Linked DNA regions of Homo sapiens: all the other regions are linked to region 2. Evidence: promoter capture Hi-C in 16 types of primary human blood cells and fetal thymus (Javierre and others, 2016). All regions are on one chromosome and are shown on one strand. Each heading gives the region's core, a stretch centred on a gene start or on the middle of the fragment in contact. The rest is flanking DNA. Distances are from core to core; before and after follow the strand shown.

Region 1 (3,136 bases), core at 588-3,087, 520 kb after region 2:
TATTATTTCCTAAGTATTGATTTATGTATTCTCCCTGTTAACTTAAAGTAAAAACCTATATCTTATTGTTTTTATCTCCAGTGCCTAGCACTGCAGCAAAGAGTGGATGCCCAATAAATGTTTGTAGAATGAAAGAGGAAAAGAATCTGGATGGCAAGTAAGAGATCAGGAAGAAAGAAGAGAATGAACCACTTCATCAGTATACCTGAGGGGCTCATGGAAATTCACATTCTAAGACCCTACCCCAGATCCTCTGAATAGGAATCTCCTGAGGTAGGGCTCAGGAATCCACCTTCTTAATAAGTTCCTTGGGTGATTCTTATAAACTCTAATGTCTCTAGCCACTGCAGTTTTAATATTGCAGAGGTTCTGTTATTTAAGAATCTGACTTAGGGTCAAGAACTTTAATGGAGTTAATTTCTAAGATAATATAATTACAACATCAATTATGATCATGGTGGTGATAATTACAGAACAAAGGCCTAAAGCAAATGTGGAAACTTAGAAACACCAAAGAGAAACTACTGCCTGCCTGAGCCCCTGCAAAGGCAGTTTGGTACCTGGGGAAGCAGTGCACTAAGTCAGCAGATGCGGGGCTGAGTCCCAGCTCTGATTAACACGTGGTTTTCTCTTAGACCGGTACTTCAATATCTCTGGACCTCAGTTCCCCATTTGACAAATGAAGGGGTTGTTTCTAAGATTCCTTGTAGCTCCGATGTTTTTAAGTGGCTATCTTGAGGAAGGAAAAGCTCGTCAAGTGTGGGTAACAGTCCAAGACGCTGTGCTTCTAGACTTGCTATATTTCTGGAAGATGTCTATCCTGGCAAAAGATGACTATAGTAGAAGCGAGCCAAAAGACAGCCAGCAGGGCCACTTTGTTATAATGAGATTATGCCAGAGCCACTTTGGCTTATGAAATTAATATAACAGTGCTAATATATTACTGAGAGTAGCAAAGGCGCGCTCTCTCTCAAGAATGCCAAACATACAGTGGGCATCGTCCCCCTCCCTCTTGACCACAGCCCCATAAAGAAGCAGGACAGGAGAGGAGAACTGCTGTCCTGGGCACGCTGAGTCTGGGGCGAGGGTTGCCAGGAACTGAGTGGTAGAGGCAGGATCTCCTGGTATGTTGTCACTTAGCCCAAGTCTTCCCATAGGAAAGTCTCGGGGAAAATGAAAGACCTACCTCTGGCCCTTTCAGGGAAGGAGCTGAAAAAACTCCAGGCTGGGCATTGGTCTAGTCATCCTCCTGGAGGCCTCGCATGTGACCAGGGAGAGGGAGAAAGGGCAGCACTCCCCTGCCCTGCCCAGCCTTTCCAAGCTGAGGGAATGCCAAGCCTTTGCTGGACTTTGACCCATTGAGGAAAAGGCGGGAGACACATTCAAACAGGCATGGTGATAAACTTATTAGTCATGCCCGCCCTTGTAGCCACCGCTTCACCCACCTTCTCCGGCCTGCCCCCAGCCCCGCCACTTTTCAAGTTGGGCAACTTAATGGAAAAAAATGAAATAAAAAGAAGAGCGAGACCAACATACTTGATGAAGAAGATTCTCCCACCGCCGTCAACTCCGTAGGCCCACCGGCCGGGCAGGTCCAGCCAGTCAATCTCATCGGCCATCTCGGTGTCCCTGCAGCCCCTCTCGCTCTCTGCGCCCCCAGGCGCCGGCTGGGCAGGGGGCTTGGTACCCGGGAACCCCCACTTGCTGCCCCCTTCCAGAGGCCGTGGTGGGGGAGGGGGTCCGGCCGGGCTGGCGGCGTCGCTCCCGGGTCCCTGGCAGTGTGGCTGGCCTCCCCACTGAAGACGCGCTGGCCTCAAGCCGGGCGGCAGGGAGCAGGCAAGCGCTTAACCCTGGCCGGCCGGGAGCCCCAGACACCACCTGCCTCCTCGTCGACTCGGGAGCTCCTCTTCGGACCGTTTCCTGAACTTTAATGACGGGCAATTAGCGCGGTGAGTAATTACGATGCCTCTCCTGCCGGGACTGTTAACGGGCAGCGCTGGGTCTCCGTTCCTCCTGGCTCTGCTGCCCTCCAGCCTGGCGGAGCCCGGAGAGCAGAAGCTGGAGCGGGGAGGATCCCTCCCCGAAGGGAGCAGGTTGCAGTGCGAGCAGGGGTGTTGCCTCTCCGCTCCCAGCTCCGATCTTGCACTTGAACCACCGGCGGGGCCGGGGGCGGAGCCGCGCCGCCGCCTCGGAAGGTAATTCACAGCCCCGAGAACTCGCCGGCAGCGCCAAGTCCCCCAGTCCAGGCGCACCGCGCAGAGAACCAGTTTGACTAAAAGAGCTTTGAATCAGGAACCTGGTGGACATGTCCAGCCACTGAACGGAAAAGGGGAAGTGATTAAACCTGGTTCTACTTGGTGGGAGGTTAGGAGAGGAACAAAGGTCAAAGGCACGGAAGCGTGGCGGGGCTGTGAGCAGCGAGGGGCCCGGGGAGCCTCTCCTAGCTCAGATGCCAGCCTGATTAGTCGAGCTAGTCCTTACCTTTCTTTCCCAGCACCTCCTCCAAGAAGTCTGCCATGACTAAGTAGAATCACAGGGAGACCTTAGAAATACTCAGAAACCAACAGCGTTTATGTCCCTCCATTCCATTCCCCCTAACTTGCACCAGAAATGGAAAAGGAAAAAGGAAGAAAAATGGAGAGAGAAGGGAATGTGTTATGTGTACAGAATGCAGACTGCAAGCATTTCATACTGGCATACCAAAAGCAGTATTGCTGGAGCCCACAGTTCTGCTATCTCAGGGTCTATATCAAAGTTAGCCAGCTTAGGCAACATAGCAAGACCCTGTCACTACAAATAATAATAATAATTAATTAGCTGGATCTGGTGGCACGAGCCTGTAGTCCCAGCAACTCAGAACACTGTCAGGAGGATCACTTTGAGCCGGGAGGTCGAGGCTGCGGTGACCTATGATCCTGCCAGTGTACTCCAGCCTGGGCAACAGAGCGAGACCCTGTCTCAAGAAAGAAAAAATGCTGAAGTCCATTTGGCTTTCCCAGCTTACTCCGGATCTGCCACTGGGGCTCCAGTTAGGTACATACAGTTCCAATCCATGTGCCAGGCCCAGGAGAATAATTAGACGATGAGAGAGACACCTGTGTTTAAAGGGAGCAATGTGTTCCATGACAGCTGGCAA
Region 2 (3,166 bases), core at 461-2,960:
AAATAGTTATCCCATGCATTTGCCAGCTTTGTGTAGTTTATTTATTTATTTATTCTTATTTATTTTTTTGAGACGGAGTCTCGCTCCGTCACCAAGGCTGGAGTGCAGTGGCATGATCTCGGCTCACTGCAACCTCTGCCTCCTGGGTTCAAGTGATTCTCCTGTCTCAGTCTCCCAAGTAGCTGGGATTACAGGCATGTGCTACCATGCATGGCTAATTTTTGTATTTTTAGTAGAGACAAGGTTTCACCATGTTGCCCAGGCTGGTCTCGAACTCCTGACCTCAGTTGATCCACCTGCCTCGGCCTCCCAAAATGCTGGGATTACAGGCGTGAGCCTGGCCGCTTTGTGTAGTTTAAAAATCACTTTCAACTCAACCCCTTTCTGAAGTCGTTATTACTATTATCCCCATTAAACAGAAGCCCTCAGAAAAGCTAATTTTGATTCTGCCATTTGCCCTAATCCGTGTTCCCTTAGGCAAGTCCTTTCAAAAGTCTAAACTTCAGTTTCCTCCTCTATAACATGTGTATGCCAATTAAGTGAAATCTCTGCCAGGCCACAAGCCATGACACAATGGAAAGGTAGGTGGACTTTGGGGTCAGGCACACCTACAAATTCCAGCTGCTCCACTTAGTAGCTGTGTTATCCAGGGAAGGACATGTTCTGACACTGGCTGACGCCTAACTGTGTGCACACATAGACAATTATTTCATTGAATCTTTAAGCCCCTGAGTAAAGTTAATCTTTACTATAATCTCCGTTTTGGAAACTAAGCCAAGACATGGCGAGGCTGAGTAATTTATCCTTGGTCACCAACTCTAAAAGAGCTGGATTTGCGCCCAGCATGTGGATTTCAGCGTCTTCCTGGTAAATCGCCACCCTCAGTTGCCACCTGAACAGTAACTCTCCACGAAATGGATGAGAATTGAATCCGTAACTGGAGGGAACCAGGCGTCTGGCTTTGGAATGCAGACCGCCTCTGGCCGACTGCCAGAGGTGGGAGGCCTGAAGTTTGGGCTCCTTGCCGCCCTACCCTTTCCACCACAACGCTGCTATCAAGCCTAAACTCCAGCAAAATAGGCTTTAGGAAAGGCACGAAATTAACTCATTTTACACATAGAGATACACACTGGGACGATTTTGGCTTTTCAAGCTAACTCAGAAAATGGAGATACAGGCCGGGCGCGGTGGCTTACGCCTGTAATCCCAGCACTTTGGGAGGCCGAGGCGGGCGGATCATGAGGTCAGGAGATCGAGACCATCCTGGCCAACATGGTGAAACCCCGTCTCTACTAAAAACACAAAAAATTAGTCGGACGTGGTGGCAGGCGCCTGTAGTCCCAGCTACTCGGGAGGCTGAGGCAGGAGAATCGCTTGAACCCTGGAGGCTGAGGTTGCAGTGAGCTGAAATCGCGCCACTGCACTCCAGCCTGGGCGACAGAGCGAGACTTCGCCTCAAAAAAAAAAAAAGAAAAGAAATTGGAGACAGGACGGCACTCCTCCTACCACGGCCACTATACAACCGAAGGCACCTCCTCCCGCCTCCCTCCAGGTGGCGCTGTAGGACCGGCCCACCTTCCACAGCGCAGACGCCTCAGTTTGGCCTCCCTCGGAGGCCATGCAGCGAAGAAACGTGACTTCATGGCTAGAGGGGCATTTCCCAGGAGCCGCCCATGCCGCCGCGTGACCTTCACACTTCCGCTTCCGGTTCTTTATTCCGGAAGTTGCTCTCAGAGGCAGCGTGCGGGTGTGCTCTTTGTGAAATTCCACCATGGCGTACCGTGGCCAGGGTCAGAAAGTGCAGAAGGTTATGGTGCAGCCCATCGTATCCTACGCAGGATGTCAGGACTAGGAGGTTCGGGTCAGAATACGGGGTGCGAAGGCGCAGGCTGAGGGCAGGCCTGGGATAGTGGAGTACGGATCCACATCCCATGAGCCCCCGGGGCTACCAAGACTGGAAGAAAGCGCGGGTAGTTGAACCGTGATGGTGGGGAGGTGGTCTTGGGGGGACCCCTGCCGTGGGGAATGCAGGAATGGACGCGGCAAAAGGAGGGAAGAGAACTTCAGGTGCGGAGTGAAAACGGGAGTTAACGGTTTTGGGAAACTCCAGGGGGATGAAAGTGGAATGGATGTTCTTTAGTCTTTAGAAGACCCGTAACGAATGCCCAGCTGGGCACTTGTTGTTTGCGTAAGCACCAGACCTCGCGTTTAGTAAACAAAGGTGAGACGGGAATAGCGTCGTCCGGTTGTTTCAGGAAGCAGAGTCTATGCTGCTTTTGTATTTTTTCCTTAGCCACTGTGGTGCAGAACCTCATCTTCAGATACTTACAAAATGTACGTAAGTTGCTTGTTTCGTAACTACTTTTTAAATAAGAGGTGAACTGATTTAGTTTTTTGTGTTAACCTGAGCGATCGCTGTGTTCTAGAATTTAAAAATAGATGTAACTGGAGATTGGAGGGTAATTGAGGGGAAGGAGTACTTAGAAAGCACTAATGTGATGAAGTGGTGTGTATCCATGCCACTTCCCAACATGCAAAGAATTGTATCCATTACTTTGCAAGATCAAAAATACTTTTTAATTCCAAAAAGTATTATTAGCAGACTTGACCATGGTATTTGGGCATCAGTAGTTTTGTTAGTAGTGATTATGGCTAGAACATTGGAACCTCTCCCCTTTAGGATGAAACATTGGAAGAAAAACCCAGCCAACTTAAACCATGTCAAGAGGTGGTGTGTTTAATACCTGTGGGAAAACTTAAAGACGAAAAAAGGAAGAGAGAAGGGGTAGCTTCAGAGGAGTTTAGTGGCAGCTGCTTTCCTTTGAGGGAAATTTTAGCAACTTAAATTTTATAGTGTGATAACACAACTGAAAAACATTAATTTCAGGTGATAATAATTCTTAACCACCTGAATTGAGGGCTCCTGTCCTAGTTGTTAGGTGTGTGACATGAGAAGGCTTTGTTTTGGAACTGGATTTTGCTGCAGGAGATAAGCCCTTGGTCATTAGAAATTACTGCTTTGTGCTATGCTGTCAAAAACTTTCACTCTTAATAGATTGAGACCAGAAGCAGTAAGAAATATTGAGTCCCAAAATCACAGGAAAATTATTAGCTTATACAGTTCCAATATAGAACTTATTAAATGAAAATTCTTTTTGAGGTTATT
Region 3 (3,422 bases), core at 302-2,801, 550 kb after region 2:
CTGCGCCCAGCCTGACAGATATTTCAGGGTTCTCCTATTGTTCAGTACTATGTAGACCATCAACCTGAGATCTTATGTAAAAGTTGGGCAGTGCTGCGTACATACATGTCTGGTGTGGGGCAAACTAAACTCACAGAGAAGCAGCTCAGTCCCCAGAACTATTTACTCTCTTTTATGCTTCCAAGCAGGCAACATATTCAATTCATATTTATTAATACTTCCTTAGCAACCAGAACCACAGAATACAACAGCCAAAAAGGAAACATGGACCACTATCCTTTGAAAAAAAAAATGGCTGGTAATTTTAATTGCTGTATTTGATTATCTCTTGTGAGTTTGGTCTTAGTTCATTTCTTTATTTCTGCTAAAACTCTGTAATAGATACCCCTGAAGTCAAGTACCAATTACAGAGGGAGGGTGGCAGTTATGAGCACTAGGGACAGCAGAAAAATCTTTAGGGAGCTGGGAGGAGACCAGCAGCTCCTCCTGCCTTACTGGGCCTGTTCAAGGAACAACCACTTCTTTTTTTCTTTTTTGAGACGAGTCTCGCTCTGTTGCCCAGGATATAGTGCAGTGGTGTGATCTCTGCTCACTGCAACCTCCGCCTTCCTGGGTTCAAACTATTATCCTGCCTCAGCCTCCCTAGTAGCTAGGACTACAGGCACATGCCACCACGCCCGGCTAATTTTTGTATTTTTAGTAGAGACGGAGTTTCACCATGTTAGCCAGGATGGTCTCAATTTCCTGACCTTGTGATCTGCCCGCCTCAGCCTCCCAAAGTGCTGGGATTACAGGCGTGAGCCACCACGTTCGGCACAACCACTTCTTTCTAGGAAGCCAAGAGGACCTCAGTTTCTGTTGTTTATCCTGTATTATTATCCATACCTCTGGAAAATCTCAATCCTATGAACTTCAGAAAAATGTATTAATAATAGAGGTCAGTTTCATAATACAGATCCAAGTAGGCAAATTTGTTACCAGAAGCCTGTTTCTTGTAAAGTGAGGCTAGTAATTCCTCTTTCAATGGATTGGTAAGAAAACTAAGTTTTCTCAGTGCCTAGCCTAGACAGAGTAGGAGCACAAAGATTAGCTAATATTCTTGTGTGGTTCTGCTTTACAGTCTTCAGTTGTTTCCTCATTGCCTGCAGAATAAAGGCTCTATGCAGCCTGCCCTCCCACTGTACTCTTCCAGCCTCCTCTGTCACTTGTCTTCATGCATGTTATATTCTAGGAACATTGGACTTACCTGTACTCCTTGCTTCCTGCCTTTACTCATGCTGTTTCTCAGCCAAGAAAAGCTTCACCTTTCCTGTTACATACCTACTCATCCTTCAAGATCCAATTCAAATGTCAGCTTCTCCTTGAAGCCTTCATTGACCTTTCCAGCCAGAATTAATGGATCCCTCACAGTACTTATATTATTCCGCTCTATTAGAGCACTTAACACATTGCATTACATATACCTGTAAGTATTCTCTCTTGCTGGTCCCTGAATTCCTTGAGGGCTGTATCCAACTATCTAGAAAAGTGGTTCCCAAAGTATGGTCTGGGCACCCCTGGGGATCCTCCTTTGAAACCCTTTCAGAGGGTCCTTAAGGCCAAAAATATTTCCATAATAATTCTCAGCTTTTTTAACTCTCATTTTCTCATGTATGTACAGTGAAGTCTTCTGGAAGATACATGGTGTGTGAACTGTCAACAGAATGAATGCAAAAGCAGATAGATACGAGATTCTAGCTGTTTTATATTAAGCCAGATACTAAAGACATTTGGAAAAAATGTAAGACAATGCCACTTTTCTCACTAAGCTTTTTATGTTTTGAAAAATAATTGAACATTACCAGCCTGGGCAACATGGCAAAACCCTGTCTCTACAAAACATACAAAAATTAGCCAGGCATGACGGTGCACGCCTGTGGTCCCAGCTACTCAGGAGGCTGAGGTGGGAGGATTGCTCAAGCCTGGGAGGCAGAGGTTGCAGTGAGCCAAGATTGTGCCACTGCACTCCATCCTGGGCAACAGAGTGAGATCCTGCCTCAAAAAAAAAAAAAAAATTAACATGTAATTGGTTATTTTTAAATGAATTTTAAAATTTTATTGTATTTTTCATTAAAGACAGAGTTTCATATGTTGCCCAGGCTGGAGTGCAGTGCGTATTCACAGGGGCAATCACAGCACACTATGGCCTTGAACTCCTGGGCTCAAGCAATCCTCCTGCTTCAGCCTCCCAAGTAGCTGGAACGACAGGTGCACACCACCACACCCAGCCTAAATGAACATTTTTCAGTTCCTCGGTCTTGAATTCATAAATAGGAAATATTGATAGCTATAAACCACATAAAGGTATAAAGATAGTTATTTGGGGTCCTTAGTAATTTTTTTTTGAGACAGGATCTTGCTGTATTGCCCAGGCTGGAGTGCAGTGGTGCAGTCACGGCTCACTGCACCCTTGATCTCCCAGGCTTAAGCAGTCCTCCCACCTCAGCCTCCCAAGTTGTTGGCATAGCAGGTGTGTACCACCACACCTGTTGTTTTTTTTTTTTCATTTTATTATTACATTTTTGAGATGGAGTCTTGCTCTGTTGCCTATGCTGGAGTGCAGTGGTGTAATCTCAGCTCACTGCAACCTCCACCTCCCAGGTTCAAGCGATTCTTCTGCCTCAGCCTCCCAAGTAGCTGGGATTACAGGCACCCACCACCATGCCCGGCCAATTTTTATATTTTTTTAGTGGAGACTGTTTCACCAGGTTGCCCAAGTTGGGGTTTTTTTTCTTTTTAGTAGAGATGAGGTTTTGCCATGTGGCCCAGGCTGGTCTCAAACTCCTGAGCTCAAGCAATTTGCCTGCCTCAGCCTCCCAAAGTGCAGGGATTACAGACATGAGCCAGCACACCTGGCTGGGGCCCTCAATACTTTTTAAGAGTATAAACTTTTTCCTGAGGCCAAAAAGTTTAAGAACCACTGAGGTAGTATGTTGACTGGTACATAATAGGTACCCAATAAATGTTTGTTGAATGAATGGAAGAGTAATAATACTTTAAAATAATGTCGTCTTCCTTAAGACCAAGCCTCTTGCATTCCACTCTCAACTTTGTCACTGACTGACACCACACACCCCTGAAAACAATTTCTTAAAACTTTCTTGAATGGAACTCCCCTTCCCCATGTAGTCATTGGATATATAATTTTTATTCTTCCTTATGTTAGAAGTTCTAAAGAGGGAAAATGCAATCATAAAGTATTTGGGCTAGGCATGGTGGCTCATGCCTGTAATCCTAGCACTTGGGAGGTGGGTCAATTGCTTGAGCCCAAGAGTTCAAGACCAGCCTGAGCAACATATGGCAAAACCCCATCTCTACAAAAAATTTGCCAGGTGTGGTGGTGTGCATCTGTGTTCCCAGCCACTCAGGAGGTTGAGGTGGGA
Region 4 (3,494 bases), core at 40-2,539, 680 kb after region 2:
GGGAAGAATAACTTTAATATGGCACCATTTCAAGAATTTGGCTTCTGATAGTTTCAATAATGAATAAGTGGAAACATAATTGAAGTTTCCCTGGCCACAGATAAGCCTTTTAGTCAGCAATATTGACATAATTTATAAGTAAATAGGGTAACCTTATGTTCTGGCAAGGACCCATGTATTGCAGAAATTCTTTCACCATATGTACTTCAGCACACGTTAACCCCATGGTTGCTATGGGCAGGCCTAATGTATTGGGAGGAGGTAGAAGAGAATGAGAAAGTAAGAAAGGAGCAGTAGAGCCCAACAAAAGACTGGAGTATGGGAAAGAAAAGAGTATCATGTGATAACAACAGACTTATGTTAATTAGCTGCCCTCAGTGTCATTCAAATGTACAATGTGAGATCTTTTACTTGAAATAACGTGGGGTCTTAGTATTTGTGGTATGTCTAGATACTTAACTCTAAGAGCCCATTGATCCAGCGAGGGCATATGTATGTATTTGGACAACCTAGAGTTTAGTGTTTTATAGTGGTTGTTACCTACTAAAACATACGAATTATTGAGAATTGACCCAGAATATGTGGTACCAGTGAGATTGCCTGGACAACCTTGTGATCACCTATTATGGTTTGTATTGCCTTGCTTTGATCTTAAGGGTTAGACCACTATGTTACCATCATTTGCAATGCTGTTAATCAAACTATTATCAGGCACTATGTACTAGAGCAAGTAATTCTATAGTTTATACATGGTAGGAGTGTTTAAAATACCAGTAAATGCCCATTTAGAAATTCTTTTAGCACAAGGTCATTGTTCAGATGCTTTTAGAGTCTTTTTTTTTTCCTGTCTTCTCATAGAAGACAATGCTTTTAGAGTTTAAACTTGATAAACGATGATCTGTTTGTAGTGTCATTACTTGCTAATGAAGTCTAAACAAGGGAGGAGATTTGAGCTCTGCCACTAAGACAGATACTTGATTTCTGGTTCTTTCTTTCTTAGAACAGGAATTTCTTTTTACCTATTTTATAAAGAAGTTTTAAGTATTCTAAAGATAGTCTTAGTTATTACGTATTGTGCATAGTTATCATTCTTTTCATTTGACTTCTATAGATGAAGACTTAATTGAAAATTTAGCCCAAGATGAAACATCTAGGCTGGACCTTGGATTTGAGGAGTGGGATGTAGCTGGCCTGCCTTGGTGGTTTTTAGGAAACTTGAGAAGCAACTATACACCTAGAAGTAATGGCTCAACTGATTTACAGACAAATCAGGTAAATTTCACATTTGAAGGGAAGTGGTTTTTTTTCTTTTGAAAGGGTAACATTCTTGGTTACTCTTGACCACACATTATATTCTCTAAGAATTCTTATTTACTCCTATGGCGTTAAATACCATCTGTATGCATGTGATACCCAAATCTGTATCTCTAGTCCTTACCTCTTCCCTAAATGCCCAACTTCAGTTTCCAGATGCCTATTTAACTAACAACTCTACTTAGAGGATTTGACATTGAACAATTTCAAAATGGAGCCTTTGGCTGTGCGTAGTGGCTCATGCCTGTAATCTCTGGGAGTCCCAGCCTATAACACTGGGAGGCCGAGACAGGAGGATTGCTTGAGCCCAGGAGTTTGAGACCAGCCTAGGCAACATAGACACCATTTTTACAAAAAATTAAAAATTAGCCAGGCGTGGTGGCGTGCGCCTGTTTTACTATAGTAATAACTGATTCAGCCCCCTCCTTCCTCACTTCCTGTCATTCTTCTTTGTTCACTACATGCGTTTTGGATATACTAGGCTCCTTTCTGACACTGTAGCCCAAAATTGCTGCCTTCCTCAGGCACCTTAAGTTTGTTCTTTACTCTTTCTGGAACACTGTTCCCCCACATTCTTTCTTTGCCTTCTCATGATTTAGGACTCACCTCAAATGTAATTTCTTCAAAGAGGTCATCCCTGGCCACAAAGGCTATTATGTTACACAGTTCCAGTAGGATCCATTCGCTTTTTGTTTTGGAGCTGTGTAGCTATAGGTGGTGGCCCTGCCAAACCCATCCCTAGTTAAAATAGCCTCCTCTCTAGCCACTCTTCTCTTTTATCCTATTTTATTCTCCATAGTACTTCTCACTTTGTAAAAATATTGCTATATTTTATGTATGTGTTGTCTGTTTACCACTGAAATGTAAGGCCAGGGCTTTTGTATTATTCACTACTTTTTCCATTACCTGGTACCTAGAACAGTATGTGGCACATAATAGGTATTCAGTGAGTATTTGTTTAATAAATGGATGAGTATTTAATAGTGTGCAAAATAATAAATTGTCTCTCATGAATGTTGTAGAAAAGCATGTCATGAAATATTCATAGATGAATGCAGAAGGTTAGTTCTATATGGAGTTCAGAAAGTGTCAGGACAAAAGGTTTGGGTGACCATCAGTATTTCTCATATTTCTTTAATAAACATCCTTGACCATTTTAAGGGAAAGAATATGTCAGAACTAATGGAATGTTTTGTAGCTTCTTAGAGTGTCACCTGTAGAAGGGAATTTAGGGAATAGATTCTATTTACTTGAGCAACTACAAGTCCTTACCTTTTAAACTCTTCAGTACTGTTTCTTAGGTGTTATACCTGATTTAGTGTTAAAAGAGAAAAGTCCATGCCTGACACCATTATATCCATCCATTAGTTTATCCACAGTAGGTGTCAAGTAGATATATGTTGAATGAATACATGTCCACTGAATAAAGGCAAGATGTTCTTTGGCGATGTAGTGTGACGACATTGAGTTTTGGGTTCATTTGTGTTGTTTCAACATCTCTGATAAACCTCTGAATACAGAAACTCATGTTTGTTTTTTTTCTGTTAGGATGTGGGTACTGCCATTGTTTCAGATACTACAGATGACTTGTGGTTTTTGAATGAGTCAGTATCAGAGCAGTTAGGTGTTGGAATAAAAGTTGAAGCTGCTGATACTGAACAAACAAGTGAAGAAGTAGGGAAAGTAAGTGACAAAAAGGTATGTTGTGGAAAAATTCCATGTTGATTCTGTTTGTGTGCTCATAGTATCATCTGTTGAGATTTCTTTGTATCTGTTTTTACAACAGATTGCTCACATAATCCCCTTTTTAACTTTAATTAATTTTTCAATCCAATTTTAAGATTCACATTAAGTAATGTTAACCAGGGCTGCCTTAAAAGCCCCTACTTAGTCAAAAGCAGTAAGCTACTCTTTTTTCCCCTGATTATAGCAACAAGCTACCTTTTCTCTCCCTTTGCTAACAAGGTAAGGTGCTAATCAAGCTTGTCCAACCCACAGCCTGTGGACCACATGCGGCCCAGAACAACTTTGAATCAACACAAATTCATAAACTTTTAAAAAACATTATGAGTTTTCTTGCGATTTTTTTTCTCCTTTTAGCTCATCAGTTATCATTAGTGTTAGTGTATTTTATGTGTGGCCCAAGACAATTCTTCCAGTGTGACCCAGGGAAGCCAAAA

Evidence for each region. The method cuts DNA at HindIII sites, captures the fragments that hold promoters and counts their contacts. A CHiCAGO score of 5 or more calls a contact.
Region 1: a contact is called between a fragment that was not itself captured here and the fragment with the promoter of SNRPE in region 2, in 1 of 17 cell types (naive CD8 T cells). The highest score is 5.0, in naive CD8 T cells.
Region 3: a contact is called between a fragment that was not itself captured here and the fragment with the promoter of SNRPE in region 2, in 1 of 17 cell types (non-activated CD4 T cells). The highest score is 6.6, in non-activated CD4 T cells.
Region 4: a fragment that was not itself captured here is called in contact with the fragment with the promoter of SNRPE in region 2 in 2 of 17 cell types (megakaryocytes and erythroblasts); the score reaches 6.4 in megakaryocytes.

The regions. Positions count from the first base shown.
Region 1 is chr1:204,376,047-204,379,182 of GRCh38, forward strand. It overlaps a transcript of PLEKHA6 not described here. Among named protein-coding and RNA genes, the nearest start is that of LINC00628, 7.9 kb to the left of the region's middle. The HindIII fragment of the contact is 4,972 bases long and covers 1-3,136 here.
Region 2 is chr1:203,859,889-203,863,054 of GRCh38, forward strand. It overlaps SNRPE (small nuclear ribonucleoprotein polypeptide E), which reads left to right and starts at 1,711. Exons shown (of 5, transcript NM_003094.4): 1 at 1,711-1,825; 2 at 2,308-2,334. The coding sequence starts at 1,772. RefSeq lists enhancers at 1,493-1,787, 1,596-1,855, 2,241-2,816. The HindIII fragment of the contact is 9,598 bases long and covers 1-3,166 here.
Region 3 is chr1:204,413,125-204,416,546 of GRCh38, forward strand. No RefSeq gene overlaps it. Among named protein-coding and RNA genes, the nearest start is that of PPP1R15B, 3.0 kb to the left of the region's middle. The HindIII fragment of the contact is 510 bases long and covers 1,297-1,806 here.
Region 4 is chr1:204,541,673-204,545,166 of GRCh38, forward strand. MDM4 (MDM4 regulator of p53) reads left to right here. Exons shown (of 11, transcript NM_002393.5): 8 at 1,112-1,272; 9 at 2,863-3,012. Among named protein-coding and RNA genes, the nearest start is that of LRRN2-AS1, 21 kb to the right of the region's middle. The HindIII fragment of the contact is 4,009 bases long and covers 1-3,294 here.